Regions from separate parts of the Homo sapiens genome. Here region 1 is linked to region 2. The links are contacts of gene promoters, found by promoter capture Hi-C in human tissues and cell types (Jung and others, 2019). All regions are on one chromosome and are shown on one strand. The core of a region is centred on a gene start or on the middle of the fragment in contact, and the rest is flanking DNA. Distances in the headings are between cores, read along the strand shown. Region 1 overlaps TRIOBP (TRIO and F-actin binding protein). Region 2 holds the start of MFNG (MFNG O-fucosylpeptide 3-beta-N-acetylglucosaminyltransferase).

The links. Contacts are between HindIII fragments. The study calls those that stand out against the background at their distance.
Region 1: a contact is called between a fragment that was not itself captured here and the fragment with the promoter of MFNG in region 2, in 1 of the 25 tissues and cell types used here (spleen).

The regions. Positions count from the first base shown.
Region 1 is chr22:37,731,220-37,733,919 of GRCh38, forward strand. It overlaps TRIOBP (TRIO and F-actin binding protein), which reads left to right. Exons shown (of 24, transcript NM_001039141.3): 8 at 2,079-2,193. Among named protein-coding and RNA genes, the nearest start is that of TRIOBP, 36 kb to the left of the region's middle. The HindIII fragment of the contact is 6,403 bases long and covers 1-2,700 here.
Region 2 is chr22:37,485,009-37,487,708 of GRCh38, forward strand. It overlaps MFNG (MFNG O-fucosylpeptide 3-beta-N-acetylglucosaminyltransferase), which reads right to left and starts at 1,376. Exons shown (of 8, transcript NM_002405.4): 1 at 915-1,376. The coding sequence starts at 1,169. RefSeq lists enhancers at 261-320, 721-770, 1,247-1,756, 1,757-2,268, 2,269-2,700 and a silencer at 1,341-1,470. The HindIII fragment of the contact is 15,221 bases long and covers 1-2,700 here.

The DNA.
Region 1 (2,700 bases), core at 79-2,578, 250 kb after region 2:
CTCAACCTCCCAGGCTGAAGCGATCCTCCCACCTCAGCTTCCCAAGTAGCTGGGACTACAGCCACGTACCACCATGCTCGGCTCATTAAAAAAATTTTTTTTTCCTAGAACAAGGTCTCATTCTGTTGCCAGGGCTGTCTCAAACTCCTCGACTCAAGTGATCCTCTGACCTCAGCCTCCCCAAGTGCTGGAATTACAGGTGTAAAGACACTGTACCTGGCCTCCCAACCCCATATATATATATATATATTTTTTGAGACAGGGTCTCACTATGTCACCCAGGCTGGAGTGCAGTGGCGCGATCTCAGCTCACTGCAACCTCCACCTCCTGGGGTCAAGCGATCCTCCTGCCTCAGCCTCCTGAGTAGCTGGGATTACAGGCACGTGCCACCACGCCTGGCTAAGTTTTGTATTTTTAGTAGAGATTGGGTTTCACTATGTTGACCAGGCTGGTCTCGAACTCCTGACCTCAAGTGATCCACCCACCTCAGCCTCCCAAAGTGCTGTGATTAGAGGCATGAGCCACCACACCTGGGCTAATTTTTGTATTTTTAGAGACTAGGTTTCACTATGTTGTCTAGGCTGGTCTTGAACTCCTGAGCTCAAGCCATCCGCCTGCCTCAGCCTCCCAAAGTTCTGGGATTACAGGCGTGACCCATTGCGCCCTGCCCAATCCCATACTTTTGAAGGTGTCGTTCCAGCATGGCTCCTCAGGCACAGGCCCACCACAGACAGCAGGGCCTATGGAGGCCTGAGCAGAGTTTCCTCATACTTCCCTTTTTGCTGCCTCACTCTGGGTCCACCACAGGGTGGCCTTTTTCAGGCTTCTCTTCCTGGTTCAGTTCATCGACCAAAGACATGGCTCCATTTGCTAACTGAGACCCAACCAAAATAAACATTCATGGAGTGGTTGGGCCTTTTGTTGTGACCCCTTAGGTAGAGGAAGGGAGAGATATGCCCAGGTTCTGTTTGGTGTTTCTACCTGTCAATAGAGATACCACGTTAATCATTAACAGCCATGCCTCCCAGTTAGTAAGCAAGACAACTAACTGGAACTAGACTTTTTACACAAGTTAGAGATGATCTTCATCGGATGCGTCAACAATGCCTGAAGCCCAGTGTCTTAGAAACAACACTTGCCCAGGGTCAGGCGTGGTGGCTCATGCCTGTAATCCCAGCTACTTGGGAGATTAAGGCAGAGAATCACTTGAACCCGGGAGATGGAAGTTGCAGTGAGCCGAGATCGCGCCACTGCACTCCAGCCTGGGTGACAGAGCGAGACTCCATCTCAAAAAAAAAAAAAAAAAAAAGACACTTGCTTGGACAGTTTATGTTGGCCTCTCTGAAGTTGTCAGGGAGAATGTTTCTTTCTTCTGATCTTGCTCAGAGCTCTTTTGCCAACAGCTAGGATGGCCTGGAGTTTTCAAGGCTAAGCGCTGGGATTCTGTTGGTTAACAGTGATGGGAGGGAAAAAGGAAAAGAAATCCAAAATTTACAATATGGACAGGAAAAGGCAGAAAGAATGGAACACGGGGGCACACAGCAGTCTGGCTCTGTCGTCCCACCTCGTGGGCTGCGATCATGATACAAGTGCTTGGCCCCTGGAACATAAGAAGCACTCAATAAATGCTTTGTCATAATGATTATGTGTGCCCAGTGCCTGGTACACAGTAGGTGCTCAATAAATCTTAATTCCCGCAAAGACCAGTCTAACCTTTGTCTGGGGGTGGCTCTTGGGCTGCTGGTGGGGTGGTGGTTAGTCATAGGAAGTACTGGATGAGACAGGAGAGGGCCATGGCCAGGGCCAGATCCCCCTCCCCACCCAACCGCCTCTACTCCCCACTTTTCTCGTCATGTTCGCAAGAGCCTCATGAGGCAGAATAGAGCAGTGTTAACCATCCCCATTTTTCAGAAGGGGAAACTAAGGCCCTGAGAGTCATCCTCACTTAGGGCCCTTCAACGAGCTTGCAGTGGGTCCCTGGCTGTCCCACATCTCCTCCTGTTGGAGGTGGGAGCAGAGGGGCTGGGGTGCTGGGAGTGGGACAGTCCCTCAGAGGAGTGGCTGCATTTGCTCATAGGAAGTCCGAGGCAGCGGGGGCCTTCCAGGCCCAGGACGAGGGACGGTCACAGCAGCCCAGCCAAGGCCAGAGCCAACTTCTCCGAAGACAGTCCAGCCCTGCCCCCAGCAGGCAGGTGAGCACTGCCAGCTGTCTGGGGCCCCGCACCCCAAGGGGCGGCCACTGCCTCTTCCCTCCCGCTAGAAGCCAGGCAGGGGGCTTGGACAGGAAGGTCCTCTATGAAAGGGTCGGAGTCCAATCATGGGGATCCAGCTCTCCCCTCTCCCCAACGGCCAGCAGCTCTTGGCAAAATGCACAAGACCCCACATTAATCCTTTGAAGATAGCCCCTCTCCCACGCTATCCCCTTCCTTTACTAAGCACTGCTGTCTTTTTTTTTTTTTTTTTTTTTTGAGATGGAGTCTTGCACTGTCTCCCAGGCTGGAGTGCAGTGGGACAATATTGGCTCACTGCAACCTCTGCCTCCCAGGTTCAAGTGATTCTTCTACCTCAGCCTCCCAAATAGCTGGGATTACAGGCGTGTGCCACCACACCCAACTAATTTTCGTACTTTTAGTAGAGACAGGGTTTCACCATGTTGGCCAGGCTGGTCACTCCTGACGTCAAGTGATCCGCCCACCTTG
Region 2 (2,700 bases), core at 126-2,625:
CACCTCCCCCATCAACGGTCCCTAACACCGACATCACTAACTTTGCTTAAGGAAGATACTGGATGCGAGGAGGGAAAGGGCTGGAAGGGACTTGGCTCGCCGGAGCCGCACAGCCATGTGACAGACATGCCTCTTGTCACACACATCTAGCACACTCCAGCTCCGTGCGTGTGAGCACACACACACACACACACACAATCCCACGTGCCAGGCAGGCCTCCCCAACCTCCGGCCCACCACTGCCTCAGCCGCCACCCTCGTGGCATGCGCTCTCCTTCCCTCCCTCGGAAGCAGTCCGCAGGAAGCCAACACAGGAGGCCAGACATGGCGGCCTCGGCACACCCGGGGCAGCAGAGACACAGCGGCAGGGGCTATCGGGAAGGCCGAAGGGATGCCTCCCCCAAGAACAGACCCCACCATTCTCCTCCCGTCCTCCACCCTCAGAGCCCGGGCAGGACAGCACCTAGGGCCTGGGTGGGACAGCCTGGCCTGGGCACGGGTCTGGGTCAGGACCTCTTGGAGGCCTCCACCCCAGCTGCCCAACACCCACCATTACCCCTGATGCCAGGCTGGGCCTGGGTGGCTAGGAGCGAAGCCCCCACGGGAGCGGCTAGGAATAGAAGAACCCCCAGGAGGGACCCGGGAGCCTGGAGCAGGGGCCCAGCCTGGCCCCCAAAAGTGGTGGAGCGGTAGGACCTGGGTGCACCTGGAGTCAGGACCAGTACAGGGCACGGGCAGGGCCGCAGGCAGCCCCTAAAGCCCGGAAGAAGGAGAGAGGAAGAGGATCCCTGATTAGGCAGGTATTGAGCAGCTTCTCCCATGAGGCAGTCAGGGACCCCAGCCCAGTAGAAAGGCCTCTGAGAACCCCTTAGGCCAGGGGCCACCCCCAGGGCCCAATGTCACCCACTTGTCACCTGTTCCCTGGTCCTGGAAACCCACGTGTCAAGCAGCAGCTCCAGGCGCAAGCGGTGGAAAGCCCGGGTCGTCTTCACTGCAATGAAGACATCGTGTAGCTGTAGCTTAGGGGGCCCCGGGTTCGGCTGGCTCAGCTCGGGGGTCCCTTGTACCCGCTGCGGGGACAGGTTCAAGTGGTACCGCAGACACAGGAGCCCCATGCACAGGAGGGTGAGGAGGGCTCCAGCCAGGCCCCGCGGGAGCCGGCACTGCATTGGTTGGCCCTGGGACCCCAGACAGCTCAGCCCCCAAATCCCAACCAGACAGGGAGGGGAAGCTGGTCAGGCAGGGGCTCCAGCAGAGGCAAAAGTCTGGCAGGCATCAGGGGCTGGCAAGGAGGGAAGAGGTAGGAGCTGAGGCTCTGGACCCAGAGGCTGAGCCATGGCAGCACGATCTCGACCGCCGCCAGTCCTCCACCTGCTCCCGCTGTCCGGCCTGCCGCAGCCTCCGGGACCGCCTGGCCCCGCCCCGCTTAGCCCGAGGGGCGGGGCCAGACGAAGGGAACCCCAGACAGAGGCGGCTGAAAGGAGGCACCAGCAGAAAGGGCAGCCCCGGCTCTGCCAGCTGCTGCGGTGGGAGGAAGTCACAACAAACCCTCCGTGCCCGGTGGAAGGGAGTGTCCTCCAGCACCGTCCACTCCCCCAGAGAGCTGTCAGCTCGGCCCATTCAACACCCATTACTTTGGTGTCCTGCTTCACCCAGCCCCCAGCTTTTGCTCACAGGTTTCCTCCGGGATGCTCTCCCATATTCCACCAGCCTCACCCACATTCCCTCCACTAGGCTGAGTTCTATCTGGACTTCAAAGCTTAAGGGTTCCCTCCTCCAGGAAGCCTTCCGTGATAACCTCTTAACCTCTGGGGCTCCCACAGTTGTTCGCTCAGTTCCTGAGGTCTTCACAACAGCACTGGGACTGTCGTTCCCAGTTTATAGCTGAAGACATAAGGCACAAAGGCACAGAATGAGCAAAAACGATCCAGCAACTCAGCCGCAGAGCTGGCAGAACCCAGGTCTCTGTTCCTCATCTAGTTCACAGGAGGTCCCCTGAGGGCACCTGTCCAGCTGTGCCCCAGCCCATACCCGACCTCACTCCGCAGTCTCTGGAGCTGCCTCTCTCCCAGCACCTGACCAGTGGACAGACAGAGGGCCTTCTCCAGCCACCACCTCCATCTTGTTTCGCACAAGCTCACTCACACCTCCTCCCTCCTCCACTCAGAGCCTGCACTGGCTCCCATTTTCTTCAGAACAAAAGCCAAAACGCACACAGCAGCCCACAAGGCCCTGCGTGAGCTGGCTCCCAAGTTACTCCCACCCCATCTCCTGCTACTCACCCTGCTCCACTCCAGAACCTGGGACCCTCGCTGGCCCAGGCACCTGGCCGCCACAGGACCTTGGCACTTGCTGTTCCCACCTGGGCCCCTCCCTAGAGACCTGCACGTCTCACTCCCCCACTCCCTTCTGGTCTTTACACAAAGGTCACCGTCTCTGTGAGGCCTTCCCTGACCACGTTATTAACATTGCAACCCCTCGCCGCCTCCTTCCCAGCCCCCCAGGCCTGTCCCTCTCAAGCCACTTCACTGTTTTCTTCATCACACTTTTCATCTTCCAACATTCTGTATGTTTAACTAAGTTTCTGTCCTCCTCATGAGAATATCAGGGCAGGATTTATTTTTTGATCACTGAGTCCCTAATCCCCAGTGCCTAGAACAGTGACCGGCAGACAAGAACTCAATCAATGTTAATTCAACA